Linked DNA regions of Homo sapiens: regions 2, 3, 4 and 5 are each linked to region 1. The links are contacts of gene promoters, found by promoter capture Hi-C in blood cells and fetal thymus (Javierre and others, 2016). All regions are on one chromosome and are shown on one strand. The core of a region is centred on a gene start or on the middle of the fragment in contact, and the rest is flanking DNA. Distances in the headings are between cores, read along the strand shown.

Region 1 (3,051 bases), core at 373-2,872:
TCACAGTTGTATATTCTTCCCTTCCCCTTCCGCCAAAAAGTGGAGATCCAAACCTAGATTGTCATCGACTGGGGCTGGCTGAAGGTCTCTGAATAGCCGAGTGGGAGCTGGCGGCGCTGAGCCCAGCCCAGCCGAGGGCCACCGGCGCCATTCTGCACCAACCCCCAGCACAAGGGGAGGAGGCAACACCAGTCCACACCAGGGGCTCTGCGGTTTCTCCCCCAGGCCAAGGGGAAGGGCGCCCAAGGTGGATAACCAGCCCTTGGTTTCCTGGGCGAGAACATGCCAGGGCAGGGGCAGGAAGGCTCTCTCACCCCTAGAATGACGCAGCAGAGGCCAGAGGCCCTGCGAAGCCTGTCCCCTTCTACTCCAGTTCTTGTCTCCGCCAGCCTAGCTCCTCGTCCCTATTCACTGATATCTTTGAGGCTTTTATCCAGCACCCCACCCCGCACACACATCCTCCCTACCATCCATTAACCACCCAGCTGCTGGTGGTTCCACGGAGCCGCCTTACACTCCCTCCCTTTCGCACATGGCCGGTGGACGAGATGATTTCGCCCCTCCTGGCAGGATCCCACCCAGGCCAGCTTTGGGGTCCTGGCTTGGTTGCCAGGACAAACCCAGAGAGAGGAGAAGGACGAACTGAGTGTCTTTAGTCATCTTCCAAACTAATTAAATTGTGGGCTCACCTCTGCCAAAGCCCAGGTTCTGGGGCTGTGAAGAAAGCCCGCCCACCCCCATGACAACAGCTCGCAGGAACCGAGGAGCCGGCCGGCCCAGGCCTCCAAGGTCACGGGGAGGGGGTCAGGGCGGAAAAGGCAGTGGAGTGAGGGTGCCGCCCTCGGGCCGTGCTAATCCCGCTCCGCTCCGTGCCGCCGAGGCGGGGTCCTGGCCACGCAGGAGGTGCGCCTCGGAGGAGGGCGGCGAGCGGCTACGGGGTGGGGAGCAAGGGGCGCGCGGGCGGCAGGCATGGAACGGACGCGGCGCATCTCGCCCACCGCGGGACGCCCGGACGGCGGCCGGCGCGCGCGGCCCGCCTCGAGCCCGAGAGGGCGGGGAGACAATGCCTGTCCGGCGGGGCAGTCCAGGCCGCACGCTCCCGCCCGCGGACACGGGCCGCTCCTACCCGGGCGAGAGGGCAGCGGCGGGAAGGCGCCGGGAGCGATGGCCACCCCGGCCCCGCGAGGCGCGGCAGGCCCCGCTCGCCCTCTCCCGCGCCCGCCTGGCGTGCGCTTCACCCGGCAAGTCCCGGGGCCACAGACCCACCTCCTCCTCCAGGGCGCCGCCGGAGCCCGCGCCGGAGCCGGTGCCGGTGCTGCCGCCGTGCTCGCCGTCCGGCTTCAGGTTGCTCATGGTGCGGGGGAGGGGGCGGCGGGAAGGAACGCGAGGGCGAGCGCGGCGCCGGCCCCGCGGGAAGTGGGAAGGGGCGCGGGGAGCGGTGCGCTCGCGGGTGCGGAGCGGGTGGCGGGGGACCCACGGGGCAGTGAGAGGGGCAGCCTCCGCGTCGGGCCAGGGTCACATCAAGTTTGGCGGGTGCGGAAGGTGGGGAGGGGGTGCGGCGGGGGAGGCAGTGGGAGCCGGAGGGGCCGCCGCCTCCGCCTTTTCACTGCGACCGGCGAGTGCGCCGCGGCGGCGGCGGCGGCGGCAGCGGCGGCGGGGGGCGGGCGCCGGGGGAGGGGGCGGGCGCCGGCGGCGGGGGGCGGGGCCGGAACCGGCCTCAGCTGGGGCCCGGCCAGCCCCCTCCCCCGCCCGCCGCGCGGTCTCCGGGGGAACGCGCAGCCAATCCCCACCGCCCACCGTGGGCTCGCCCCGGCCCCGGCCGCGGGGCGCCGGCCTCCGGCCGGGCCTTTCCCCTCTCTCTCGCCTGGGTCAGCGCTCTCCCTCTCTCCTCTTCCCCCGCGCCCTTCTCCACGGCGAGTTTTTAAACTTTGATGAACTCGCCCGGCGAACTTTCTTAAAGGGGCCGCGCGCTGCGCGCCCCAGCCCGCGGGAGGTGGAGCCCCGTGCCCCGCACCCAGCGCCCCGGTCCCTGGGCGGCCCTGCCCGGGCGGCCTCGCGCTTAGGGCACCCGCAGCGAGGTTTCCGGGCCGTCGACTCCCCTTGTATCTTGATCTAGGGTTTTGGGGTTCCCGACGCACTCATTCTGCCCCTAAATCCAGTCGCGCAGACCTCAGCTCCGGGGGACCGAGTTCTGGGGGTGATGGCCGGGGGGAGGGGGTTGGGAGACACCTGAGCTTTGGCCCGGGCTGGGCGCTGTTTTGCTGAGTGACCTTGAGGAAATCACTTCCCCTCTCTGGCCTCAGGCTCCCAGCCCAGAGGGTGGGACTTAGGATCTCAAACTCCCTTCCCACTCCCAGTCACTATCTGAATAGGACTTAGGTGGGGATTCGAGTGTTGGGACCCCAATGGTCATTAGCGAGGGCTGCCTCGAATGACCAAGAAGGTTCTGTTGCCCACCTTGCCCTCAACACGCCTGGCTTTCGGGTCTTCTCGCTCCTCCCCCGACCTCAGTGCCCCTCACACCTTTCCCTGCCTCCTATTCTGAGCCCGAAGGCTGGGGACGGATGTAATAGCCTAGAGGCTGGGGGAGGTGGGGGAGGTCGTCGTGACTCCCCCCGCACCCCCGCGCAGGTCAGTAGGGCGCGGCCTCTGGGTCGGTTTTCTCTTCTATTTGAAAACCCAGCCGATGGGGGCCCGCCCTGCTGCCACAGTAGAAACCCGCACCCACCTCGGGGAGCGCTGGAAGCGCTGCAGCCTGAATCCGGCAGAGCCGCGGGAGAACTGGGTCCCTCCTCAGTGCCCCTTCTCCTGGACGGGGCGGAGGTTGCGGTGACCCGAGATCTTGCCATTGCACTCCAGCCAGGGCAACAAGAGCGAAACTCCGTCTCAAAAAAAGAAAAGAAAAAAGAAAAGCTGGATTTGCAGTCACGGACTGGTTAGGATCCCAGACCGTGGACAAGTGCCTGAGCCCCCAGAACCTCTGTGTGTCGACCTCCTGAATTAGGTAGGACTAGCACCACAGGATCACTGTGCTGTGGCTTAGTCTTCCCA
Region 2 (3,051 bases), core at 405-2,904, 360 kb after region 1:
CCGAAACACCATTGCTGAACCTGGGGATACATGGTTTAAAACTTGTAAACAAAAGAATCCTAGGGAAATCACTATTGCCCCATCAGCTAATTAGAGTATATATATTCCTTGAGGTAGGGTCCCCAAGTTCTCTATTTTTTTTTTTTTTGAGACGGAGTCTTGCTCTGTCGCCCAGGCTGGAATGCAGTGGTGCGATCTCGGCTCACTGCAACCTCCGCCTCCAGAGTAGCTGGGATTACAGGCGCCCGCCACCACGCATGGCTAATTTTTGTATTTTTAGTAGAGACGGGGTTTCACCATCTTGGCCAGGCTGGTCTTGAACTCCTGACCTCGTGATCCACCCGCCTCCGCCTCCCAAAGTGCTGGGATTACAGGCGTGGGCCACCGCGCCCGGCCTGTATTTTGTATTCTTAAAACCACCTAGGGCAGTACAAGACACAAGGAACTAGACACTTACTGGTTTTGAGAGTAAGTGGACAATGTTGGAGCAGGATAGGGGAGACCTGTCATTCGTGCAGTGCCACCGTGTAATCCTATACTTTGTGTTTACAGGATTTTACAGTGCACCTGGAACTTTTGTGTACCACACATCATTAACACAAAATTAACATGGTGGTATGAGCTGGGAAGGTTAGCTATCGCTTCATTTTGCGCGTAAAACAGAGGCTTAGCCCTGGGAAATGGAAGTTTAAAGCCTCCTGCTGCTCCAGGTTCCAACCACCACCACTCCTACCCCCATGAGCGGCCGCTGCTCTCACCCGCTTCTTCTCCTCCACCTCCTGCACACACTTCACCCTCCAGCGGTCAATCTCCTGCTCGCGTTCCACTGCCCGCGCGGCCTCTGCCTCCCGCTCGGCCTCGCGTTCCCGGGCCCTCTCGCGAAGCCGCAGCCGGCGGCGCCGGACCCTCTCCAGCCTCCTCCGCGCCTCGCCCACATAGGCAGCCTGGGTCAACGGCTGTAGCCGCTCGGCCAGTTCCGCGCGCAGCGGCGCGGTCTGGGAGTACAGCAGGACCCAGGCCGCGCCGTCGGCTTCGGCCTCGCGCAGGGCCTGGCTCAGGCCGCGCAGCCGCCGCACCAGGCGCAGAGCCCGGAGCAATCGCGCGCGCACTTCGCCAAGGCTGGGCCCGGCATGCGTGCGCTGGGGCACCGGACAGCCTGCCCGCCGCGGGGTCCCGAACACCGCCTCCAGCCACTGCCGGTCGCGCAGGCGTTGGAGGGCCGCATCCCCGAGCACGTCGGCCGGCGGCGGCGGCGCCTCAGGCCACCGCGGGCTCCAGGGCGGCCCCGGGCCGGGAGGCGGTGGCCGCGGCCGCTCGCCGGCGTCGGTCCCCGGGAAGGGCCGACACTGGGGCGGCGGAGGAGGCAGCGGCGGTGGTGGCACCGGGTAGAAGGCGCCAGCGCCGCCTCCGCCGCGGGAGGCCTCCGCGGAGGCTCGGGGCTGCAGAGCCAGCGGAGGCTGAAGGAAGGGGGCGGAGGCCCCCGGAAAAGGGCCGGGCCGCTGGGGGAGAGGCGGCGGGAAAGCCGGGGAGGGCAGCGGCGGTGGCGGACAGCCGAAAGGAGCAGGAGGCGGCGGCTGCGGGGGCGGTGGGCCTGGGCGACCCTGGCCGAAGAATGGTGGCAGGGCCATGTTCACGACGGAGATGCTTTGAGAAGTGACAGGAATCTGAGTGGCTCCTCATGAGAACCTTCCGACGGAAGTGACGTCGTTACGACGCGCGACCCCTGTAGACTCGTCCCTCCGGAAGGCTCAGTGCATAAGTGGGCAGTCGTTCAACCTTCTGTCGTTCAGTTCATAAATACCGTTCTTATTGAGCATCCTAGGTGCAGAGCTACCCACTCCGCATACAGTGAGACTGAGAGATACAGAGCTTCTCTTCGTGGAACTATCTGCCTAGTATAACACACTAATCAATTAATCATGGTGAGTATCTTCGAGAAGTTGGAGAAGGTTATCCTAAGAAACTGCGGCTGCAGCTGAGATCTGGAAGATAAATAGTTAAATAGAAAAAGAGAGGGAAGCACAGTGCAGATGAGAACATGTGCAAAGGCCCTAGTAAATAGGAGTGTGACCAACTACCCATTTTCTTAGAAAAATGAATTATTTTTACTTTTCTCCTTTCACCCCACCTCCTATTTAGCTCTTTAGGAATGCAATTATAGGGTGGGTGCTGTGGCTCACGTCTGTAATCCCAGCACTTTGGGAGGCCGAGGCAGGCGAGATCGGCCTGTAGTCCCAGCCATTGGGGAGGCTGAGGTGGGAGGATCACCTGAGCCCTGGGAGGTAAAGACTGCAATGAGCCACGATAACGCCACTGCACTCCACCCTGGGCGACAGAATGACACCTGTCAAAAAAAAAAATCCAATTAACCTTTACCTTCTCTCCACCAGACACTCTCTACACTGTAAGCTTATCTAATTATGTGTTCGCTTATTAGTTCCAAGGACCGAAGCTTAAACCAGGGACCTCTGGAACTTTCCCATACCAGGGGATTGCCTGGGGACAACTGTCAATTTACAACCTAGCTCCCCGCTACCCCCCACCCCCCCTCCGCCTTCGCCCCAGCCTCCATGGCGCCAACCAGATCACTGATGGATACATAGGAGCAAGTCCCATAGACCCAGCACCTCCTTGGTCCCTCCCCACCCCTTGCATGCCATCCAGGTCAACCAAGTCCCGTGCACCCCCCACTTTTTTTGAGACAGAGTCCCTCTGTCACCCAGGCTGGAGTGCAATGACGCACTCTCCACTCACTGCAACCACTGCATCCCAGGTTCCAGTTATTCTTGGTGCCTCAGCCTCCCTAGTCAGTTGCTGGGATTATAGACCCCTGCTGCCACGCCTGGCTAATTTTTGTGTTTTTAGTAGAGAGGGGGTTTCACAATGCTGGCTAGGCTGGTCGTAAACTCCTTACATCAGGTGATCCGTCCACCTTGGCCTCCCAAAGTGCTGGGGTTACAGGTGTGAGCCACCACACCTGGCCACTTTCTTTCTTTTTTTTTTTTTATGAGACAGAGTCTCCCTGTGTCGCCCAGGCTGGAGTGCAGTGGC
Region 3 (3,051 bases), core at 281-2,780, 330 kb after region 1:
CTGCCGCCTGGCTCTTGGGGTGGAGTGTATATGTAACACACATGAATCCCCACCCATACGCATCTTCTCAGGGCTCTCCCTGCCACGACCTCACCCTAGGGTCTACCCTTTATTACCTCCAGGGTGGAGAACATCAAAGTTTAGGAGCTGAGTCTACTCTTGTGTCCTTGAAAAAGATTCTTTGCCACTCTGTGCCTCATTTCCATCATCTACAGAATACTGTCCCACCCCCACAGGGTTGTTATGAGAGTTAAATTCATCTTGGCCAGGGAAGAGCCATCCTGGCATCAACATCTGGTCTTGGATGTGGGCATGGCACATCACGCTTACAGAGCCTCTTCTCTACTATGTATGCTCTAAACAACCGTGTGAAGGGTTGTTGGCTCACAGTGCAGGTAGAGAAGGGGTGGTTCAGTGACTTGCCTAAGGTCACAAGCCGGTGCATGTAAGAAACCAGACCTCAGGTCTCTGTCTTGCAGATTGAATTCTACCTTGGCCTTATTCTGCAGCATCTCCTGGCCTGACTGTGGGGCTGCTGGGGGGCAGAAAGCTGTGCCCCGCTGCCACCTTCTGCTGCCAATCCTGACCCACCCCATGTTTTGTGGAGTCTGATACTTACATAATTTGGAAGGCACCTCACAGAAAAAGAACACACAATTATGAATACAAAATTGGGCACAAGGCCTTGGAAGAGACAAAGGGAGGAGCCTGAGGCTTAAGCTTCTGTGGTTTCACTGTAGGGTCACTTCTCCCTGCTCTTCAGGGTTCACTTCCTCCGTCCTGAAGCCTTCTCAGCCTATTGCAGCCCTGACGCTCCCTCAACACCTGATCCCGCTGTACAGTTCAGGGCCTGGTCCCACAACCCTCTTGGCCAACTCTTCATGTCCTGTGGTTTTGACACTCCCAAACCCAGTGTCTGGCAGGAAGTAACTGTGCATTGAATATTCCTTGATTGAGCCTCCAGCTCCCCTAGCTTATAGCAAACCTCAGCCAGTGGGAAGCCCTAGATTTGCGTTGCGTTCATCAATTCAACAGACATCCACTGAGCGCCCCCTATGGGTCAAGTCGGCAGCTGGGTGCTCTGGAAACAAAAATCAGTGCGATCCAGTCCCTGCCCTAAAAGAGCTCAACCTCGTTTAGAAGAGACAGGTCCTGGATAATTAAAACCACTGTGACCTGCTCCCTAAAAAAAAGCAAGGCAGGCACAGTGGGAAACGCGGGGAATGGGGGCTTCTGAGCAGGGACTACTCTACTCTAGTCAAAGGGCCGCAGGAGGACAACACGGTACAGGCCCAGGTGGGAGCAGGTCAAGGGAGGATGCAGGAGCGCGTGGAGTAGGGGACCGAGGCTGCGGGCTGGGCTGGACACCCAGATTATGGGGCCTGGGCTGCTGATTGGCGGCCTTGGAGGGGCGGGCAGAATCCTTACCGCGACCGTAGGCTTGTGGCTCCGCAGCGGGGGGATGGCGCCTGCCGTGGAGGGCCGCGGGGGCGACGCGGGGGCGGCGGGGTGCTGGGGCGCGGGCCCCGGGGGTGATGCAGACCTGGGGGACTGCGCAGGGCTCGGGCACAGGCTCAGCGCGCGGTGGCCGCGGAGGCCATGCAGGAGGGCGCGGGGCCGGGAGACCAGCTTCCCCTCGGAGAGCCGCCGCCGCGCCCCTGCCAGCTCCAACCGCACGCCGCGTAGCACGTCCAGCGAGCACAGGCGACGGCCGGGGCCGGGGCTCGCCGGGGAGCCCGGTTGGAGGCTGCTGGGGGCCGGCTCTTCCTCGCTGCCAGAGGAGGCTTCTGCCTCGTCCTCACCCTCCTCCTCCGGCCTCTCCTGGTGTCCGGCCTCCGGGTCTCTGATTGTGGTGGGCGCAGGCGCCAGCCCATGTTCGGGGCTGACTAGCAAGAGCCAGGCTGGAGGGGCTGACGCTGTCCCCGGGTCACCGCACTGGTACGGGCTGGGTCCCTGGCCGGCGGCCTCCACCCAGAAGAGTGCCGTCCTCTCCAGGCTGAAGTCGTGCTGCGGAAAGAAGGCGACGTAAAGCCCAGGGCAAACCAGGACCCCGGGGGCACAACACTAACCCCTGGCCTGGGGGACCCTGTTCAGCCAGAGACTCTCTAAGCCTGGACAGCGTCAGATTCTGAGCCCCGGGCTTCCATCACAGCCCACTCTACCCTGGGTTTTAGCTAACACTGTGGTCGATGGATACCAATAACAGTTTAATGGCAAACTGGCATAAATGACAAAGTGATGAATTCGTCAGTCGAATGAAATGTAATGAAACCCAACATCTAAATCCCTTTGCCATTCAGTATGTAGTTGAGCAAAAACTACTTAAAAATTTTCTCCAATAAAGCTTATTCTTAGCAAAGAAGCTTTCACCTGAGCCCAGCAGTTTGCCAATGAGTAGTCTGCCTTGGAGGCCCGCCCAGGCAGACAAACCTCCCTATGGAGTGATTCCTGTCCCCAGCCCCTTTGCTGCCACCAAGGTTACTTTGGGGTCCTGGAAATGTCATAACCACTAATCTTTGTGGAACTCTACTTAGTATGGTCTAGTGTCATTCCTATTTCCATATTATGAAAATGGAGCTCAGAACATTGAGTTTGCTAGAAGTTAGATTGGCAGTGAGTGGCTGAGCTGGTTTTCCTGTCGGTGGACCTGATTGTAGTGCTTTCTCCACTTCGTATCAGACCACCTAAAAAAGCAATCTGGAGTCCACATAAATAATCTAACTCTAGAGTTTATAAAATGAGGCAAAAATGACATATTCCTGTTCCCTACCTTTAAAATTAAGAACAGCAAACATAAGACTCCATCAAAAATATGTAAAAGTTTTAAAGGCAATTTGTTCTACCATGGCCAGTTAAGGAAGAAAGAGGCTAGGGGTTGGGGAGTGAGGCAGAAAGACAGGCACAGACACTCAGACACTTAGATCACAGGCACAGCTCCCTCTCACCCATGACCCTACCTTGGGGAGAGGAGCATAAGTTAGCTGCTCCAGTGTGACTCCCTGAGTTCCTCTCTGTATCTTCAGGGCCCAGGGCAGGCCTGGCCCAGAGTGG
Region 4 (3,051 bases), core at 301-2,800, 290 kb after region 1:
CCGCGGGGAGGAGGGGCCGGTGGAGCCTGGCGGGCGGGGCCACCCCAAGCGCCACCAAATTCCTTGTAAGGGCTGCGGAGCCCCCCGCGGGGCGCGCTCAGCCGGCTCCTGGAGCAGGGAGGGAGCTCCTGCCGGCCGCGCCCCCACCGCCGGGCTGGGCCTCGAGGACCCTGCCGTCACCCTCCCGAGCGCCCCCAAACCCGGCCGGGAAGGAGCAGAGAAGGAGCCCCAGGGCTAGGGGGAGAGAGGGGAAGGATGTTTGCACTCTTCCCTGAACCTCCCACTCAATCTCTTTTCACCAGCAAGAAAATCCACCCCTCCCTTTGTTCTACCAAGCCAGCCCCGCCTCCTCCTCCAGGAAGCTTCCTGGGTTCAATTCCAAGCCTTGCCCTTTCTTTAGCTCAGCCTTGGCACTCTATATCCCCAATCACATTATTCTGCCCTTTGCTGTGGAGACTCTAGAGGCCTCACTGCAGAACCCATTCGGAACCCAGGCTTCTGGGAGAGGGGGCGGGGCGGAGAGAACCCCTCACTAAGATTTCAGGGCCAATATGGGTTCAGCTTCAAGAAACCTAATCCATTCTGAATTACTGTCTCTCCCTAATGGGAGCTAATGAGTTGCATGTGTTTGTGGCCTGTTGTGTAAATGGGGTGTTTGTTCTAAAACCTGGCACTGCCTCTTGCCTACAGCAATTCTGGGATTGGTGGTGAGCCTGGCAGGGGTCCCCTGGTCATTCCCCTTGGGACTCAGGGTAAATCTGGTCATACCAAAGACAGGGCAAAGGGCCCACACCACGAACCTGGACACTTAGGATCTAGTGCTAGCTCCTGCCCTAGAGTAATCTTGGGCAAGTCACCTTGCTTCTTTGGGCTTCGGTGTCCCCATATATAAATACTGAAGGAAGGGGAAAATGAAGCAAAATAGAGAGTGACAGAATCAGCCCTGGGCTCCAGGCCTGCGTACATTCTAGAACCCTGTGAGGCATCTCTTCTGGAGTACGCTCCAGGTTAGAGCAGGGAAAGGCATGGGAGCCTCAGAGACCTCTCACGGCAGCCCTTCTCCTTCCCCTTCCCGCAGATGGTTAACTCATCTACCCACCCACCCACAGAGGAACCATGGAAAACCAGGTGTGCAGGCAGGGCCCAGGGTCAGAGCTGGATGGTAATAACGACTCTTCAAAGAAGAACAATTATTTTCCTGGCCAGGACATGAATATTGACTCAGCCTAGTTGTGTTTTGGGGAAATCATGGTAAACCAGCTGTGTTATTAAGGTAGTGGGTGGAATTTGTTTAGATTACACTCTCAGGCCAGAATTAGTCACACAGCTAATGGCCAAGGGTTTTCCTTTGAGTTGTAGGAGTTGAGAAAGTGGGAGCCAAGTTCCAGTCACATCCCTGGGCTGGCCCCATTCTGTGAAGACAGACTGGTTCCAGATGGGGCCTTTGGGGATAGAACCAATCTCAATGGACAACTGCTGGAGGCAGGGCTAACTGTGGGCCTGCACGGGCCCAACTGCATGTAAACTTAAGCTCTGCTACTTCTCAGCTTGTGTGATGCTGGGATGTTACTTGACCTCTATGTGGTCTGTTTCCTCATCTTTAAAACTTGACCAACCAGGAGATGGGAGCTGCAAGATTCTAGCTCAGTCTGAGGGTGAACTCTGTAACCATCTGACTGTCCATAGTTAGAAGGGACTGTCTTTGGTGGAACTCAACCCCTCTCCCCTGACACTGGCAGCAACCAAGGGAGTGACCACGTCAAGGAAGTGTTAGAGAAGAGACGCCTTCATGACTCGAATGTTGCAGTAAGATGACCCTTAATTCTCTTCCAGTTCAGAGATTATTTGAGCTGGTGGCCACCTGGTTACTGGGGCCCTCAACTGTGACAGCTCATTGCTCAAAGTCTGCCCCTTCTCTGAGGCTTGGGAGGAAAACAGTGCCCACCTCATGGCTGCGACCTATCCTTTTCTCCATCCCCAGTTTCCTCACCCAGGGGCTGCTACTGTCAGACCCTGGAATAAACTACTTTGCCCTTCTGGGTCTCTGTTCCTCATCTTCAAAATAGGGACAAACCTGGGCAACATGGTGAAACCCTGTCTCTACAGACGCATATAAAAAAATTAGCTGGGTATGTTGGCATGCAACTATAGTCCCAGCTACATGGGAGGCCAAGGTGGGAAGATAGCTTCAGCCCAGGAGATGGAGGCTGCAATAAGCTGTATTTGTGCCACTGCACTCCTGCCTGGGTGACAGAGTGAGACCTTGTCTCAAAATAAAATAAAACAGGGACAATATCAATAAGTATATTAGATAACATGTGTCCTATCCAGAGCTTGGCCCATGGCCCAAGGAAGTGGAGGTTAGTTCTGTCTACTCCTCTGGATATAAATAGCACACATTTCTCATCCACCTACAAAGAAGTCATAACCGTTTAGTGACCAGAAGTTTGTACACTTCAGATCAAGAGAGAGGTTATTCTGCTAGGGCAGGTAACCCAACTCTCCTTACCCTCTACCCCCAACCCTCATCAAGGGTCTCATAGGAGGCCCCCAGGCACTCAAAATCTAGAGGATGTGGCACCAGGCCCAGCAGTGGGCATGCAGCAGGTGCTCAATAGATACCTCTGGAGTGAACGACTGGAGCAAATATAGGTCTAGACACGTAGGGCCTGTGAGGTTTTCCTGACGGCAGGACCTACCCTTGCCACCCAACCCCCAGGAGCCCTTTCATATAAAGCTAAGCTTTTGGTACCCTTTCGCGATGTGGTTGCCTCTTCTGGAGGCACAACATGACAACCACTTCTGTGGTTGTCGAATGATAAATTCACATGTCAAAGGGGAACAGAACCTTAGAAGGCAGATTCAAATTCCACTTTACAGATGAAGCACTGTAGCCTGAAGAGTTTGGGTAGCTTTTGTAAGTCAGTGGTGGCACCAGCATCAGAGCCCAGGCAGGAGTCCTGACTCCCAGTCCAGTGCTCTTCCTCCTCTAGGTCCAGGCAGTACAAGCCACTCACTACCCTATGTGCAGAAACATCTATGTGCATAAGT
Region 5 (3,051 bases), core at 252-2,751, 270 kb after region 1:
CGAACTCCTGACCTCAGGTGATACACCTGCCTTGGCCTCCCAAAGTGCTGGGATTACAGGCATGAGCCACCACGCCTGGCCTTTGTACCTGCTTTTTCAGGTCTTTGCATGGTTAACCCCTCATCATTCAGTTTTTAGTGTAGTAATATAGTAATCATGTCTCCCCCACCTCATCCCTTTCTATCTTATTATGTTGTTTAAGATATTCACAGAAATGATCACTGCTATAATTATCTTTTAATTATGCTTTTGCTTACTTTTTTGTTGGCTATCTCCCCTGGAGTTTGAGCTCCAATGGAGCAGGGCCCTCACCTGTCTTATTTACCATGTATCTACACAGTAGATGCTCAAGTAACATTTATTCAATGAATAAATGAATGCATTACAAAATGAGGAGGAGCTGGAGTTCCAGGCAGCCCCTAGATTCCCTGTTGGGTCTTCTTTCCTCTGCCCCATGCACACACAGTACACACTGTTGACTAATGTTTAACTCATAGAGGAGTTTGGGCTTGACATGTGACCTCACTCAGCCTCTGTTTCATTTGTGAAGTAAGAAATAAGAGTGGGCGGCTGGGCGTGGTGGCTCATGCCTGTAATCCCAGCACTTTGGGAGTCTGAGGTGGGCAGATCACGAGGTCAGGAGATCAAGACTATCCTGGCTAACACGGTGAAACACCATCTCTACTAAAAATAGAAAAAATTAGCCGGGCATGATGGCACATACTTGTAGTCCCAGCTACTCAGGAGGCTGAGGCAGGAGAATTGCTTGAACCGGGGAGGTGGAGGTTGCAGTGAGCCAAGATTGTGCCACTGCTCTCCAGCCTGGGTGACACAGCGAGACTCCATCTCAAAAAAAAAAAAAAAAAAAAAAAAGGAGTGGGCTTATTTCACATAAGCCCACTCCTTGCTAAACCAACAATGATTGCCTAAGATGCACGGAGCCAGTTGGTGGAAAAGTCCATAGACTATCAGAGTTGAATGGTGCTGGTCAGGTGGGAGGAGCACCTCATTCCTGCTTCCCCATCAAGTTACTTGCCTTGGCCTGCTTCCTACTCTCTGGGTCACTGGTGCTCACACAGCCTTTCCCAACCCCCACCTCCAAAGGTCATATTTTACAGCTCCTTGTGAGGAATTCACATCATGCCATGACCTTCACTATGAGAAAGCACAGGCTGTAAAAGGCCAGCCTGGCTCCCTGCTCCGTGGTTAAATATTGATGATATTGGGCAATAGAGACCTGGAGTGGGCACACTACATATCCCCCTGCAGTGATGGAACCCACAGACCGCAGGTCCTCTGCAGTCCATTCTCCTGCCTGTCCAGAGGATCCGGATGTTTTCTCTTTACTTGAGGCCAACACATAACAATGAAAGCACTGGGCTACTGGTGCTTTCGGATTGTGAAAGTCAGGTGGAGCCTGTTTGCACTCTGAGTGCACTCATTCAAGAGGTCAGTCACCCTGGAGTGATACAGAAGGCTCCAGGCCTGGGCGTGTGCTAAGGCCAGAGCTACCAGATGGGTCCAGCTGCCGCAGGCTCTCCAGGCACTGTCCCCTAAGTGACAGCTGTTACTGCCTGGGAGAGCTCAAGTGCAAAGACTATCCTGTTCTCCCATAAAGAGGAGGAAAAGGAAGATACAGAAATCGGTGCTGCTCCCAACAGCAGATCAAGGCAGTCGTCAGGAACTCAGGATCCGGGGTGAGTGTCCTCATCTTGCCTTGGGGATGGGTGGCCCAGGTCTTTGGCAGAAGTCACAGTCCAATGGCACGATGGTTAAGCCCTGTTTAAAATGCAGAGATCTCCCAGAGGGGCTTAAGGAGACAAGACAACTAAATGCAGTATGACATCCTAAATGGGATCCTGGAACAAGAAAAGAACATTAAAGGCAAAACTAACAAAATGCAAATAAGGCATAAAGTTTAATTTAATCATGCAAATGACAATATGATGCTCACTTTAGAAGCAAACTGGATACGTGCTTTGATAGAAATATGTCTTTGGCCGGGCGCAGTGGCTCACGCCTGTAATTCCAGCACTTTTGGAGGCCGAGGCAGGCCGATCACCTGAGGTCAGGAGTTCGAGACCACCCCGGCTAACGTGGTGAAACCCCATCTCTACTAAAAATACAAAATTGGCCGGGTGCGGTGGCTCATGCCTGTAATCCCAGCACTTTGGGAGGCCGAGGCAGATGGATCACCTCAGGTCAGGAGTTCCGAGACCAGCCTGGCCAATGTGGTGAAATGCTGTCTCTACTAATAATACAAAAATTAGCTGGATGTGGTGGCGGGCACCTATAATCCCAGCTACTCAGGAAGCTGAGGCAGGAGGATCACTTGAACTCGGGAGGCGGAGGTTGCAGTGAGCTGAGATGGTGCCACTACACTCCAGCCTGGGCAACAAGAGTGAAACTCTGTCTCTAAATAAATAAATACAAAATTAGCTGGGCATGGTGGTGGATGCCTATAATCACAGCTACTTGGGAGGCTGAGGCAGGAGAATCACTTGAACCTGGGAGGTGGAGGTTGCAGTGAGCTGAGATCATGCCATTGCACTCCAGCCTGGGCAAAAAGAGTGAAACTCTGTCTCAAAAAAAAGAAAGAAATATGTCGCTTGTTTCTGTGGCATCTAACATAGCTGAGGAGGGCTGACTCTCGGTTCTGGATTTGTATCCAATTTGTCATTTTGGTTTTTTGTTGGTTGGTATGTGTTTACTGTAACAATATTAAACATATTTTAAACATATTTTGGCCAGGCGCGGTGGCTCATGCCTGTAATCCCAGCATTTTGGGAGGACAAGGTGGGCAGGTCGCTTGAACTCAGAAGTTCAAGGCTGGCCTGGGCAAGATGATGAAACCCCATCGCTACAAAAAATACAAAAATTAGCCGGGCGTGGTGGCACATGCCTGTTGTACCAGCTGCTCAGGAGGCTGAGGTGAGAGGATCGCCTGTGCCCGGGAGATGGAGGTTGCAGTGAGCCAAGATGGTGCCATTGCACTCCAGCCTGGGTGACAGAGCCAGACTCTGTCTCAAAAAACAAAAAACAAAAAAACAC

Evidence for each region. Contacts are between HindIII fragments. The CHiCAGO score rates a contact against its expected background, and 5 or more counts as called.
Region 2: a contact is called between the fragment with the promoter of PDCD7 here and the fragment with the promoter of RBPMS2 in region 1, in 13 of 17 cell types (neutrophils, activated CD4 T cells, fetal thymus and 10 more). The highest score is 14.4, in neutrophils.
Region 3: a contact is called between a fragment that was not itself captured here and the fragment with the promoter of RBPMS2 in region 1, in 1 of 17 cell types (M2 macrophages). The highest score is 5.2, in M2 macrophages.
Region 4: a fragment that was not itself captured here is called in contact with the fragment with the promoter of RBPMS2 in region 1 in 1 of 17 cell types (endothelial precursors); the score reaches 6.4 in endothelial precursors.
Region 5: a contact is called between the fragment with the promoter of SLC51B here and the fragment with the promoter of RBPMS2 in region 1, in 8 of 17 cell types (neutrophils, erythroblasts, M0 macrophages and 5 more). The highest score is 8.4, in neutrophils.

The regions. Positions count from the first base shown.
Region 1 is chr15:64,773,967-64,777,017 of GRCh38, forward strand. It overlaps RBPMS2 (RNA binding protein, mRNA processing factor 2), which reads right to left and starts at 1,623. Exons shown (of 8, transcript NM_194272.3): 1 at 1,267-1,623. The coding sequence starts at 1,353. RefSeq lists enhancers at 1,484-2,330, 2,331-3,051 and a silencer at 1,799-2,048. The HindIII fragment of the contact is 6,915 bases long and covers 1-3,051 here.
Region 2 is chr15:65,132,154-65,135,204 of GRCh38, forward strand. It overlaps PDCD7 (programmed cell death 7), which reads right to left and starts at 1,655. Exons shown (of 5, transcript NM_005707.2): 1 at 759-1,655. The coding sequence starts at 1,628. RefSeq lists silencers at 881-1,280, 1,341-1,550 and an enhancer at 1,841-1,940. The HindIII fragment of the contact is 3,462 bases long and covers 1-2,407 here.
Region 3 is chr15:65,100,678-65,103,728 of GRCh38, forward strand. UBAP1L (ubiquitin associated protein 1 like) reads right to left here. Exons shown (of 6, transcript NM_001163692.2): 3 at 1,429-2,007. Among named protein-coding and RNA genes, the nearest start is that of UBAP1L, 13 kb to the right of the region's middle. The HindIII fragment of the contact is 1,624 bases long and covers 719-2,342 here.
Region 4 is chr15:65,067,998-65,071,048 of GRCh38, forward strand. It overlaps a transcript of RASL12 not described here. Among named protein-coding and RNA genes, the nearest start is that of RASL12, 1.5 kb to the left of the region's middle. The HindIII fragment of the contact is 2,380 bases long and covers 361-2,740 here.
Region 5 is chr15:65,043,886-65,046,936 of GRCh38, forward strand. SLC51B (SLC51 subunit beta) reads left to right here and starts at 1,502. Exons shown (of 4, transcript NM_178859.4): 1 at 1,502-1,697. It also overlaps a transcript of RASL12 not described here. The HindIII fragment of the contact is 5,268 bases long and covers 1-3,051 here.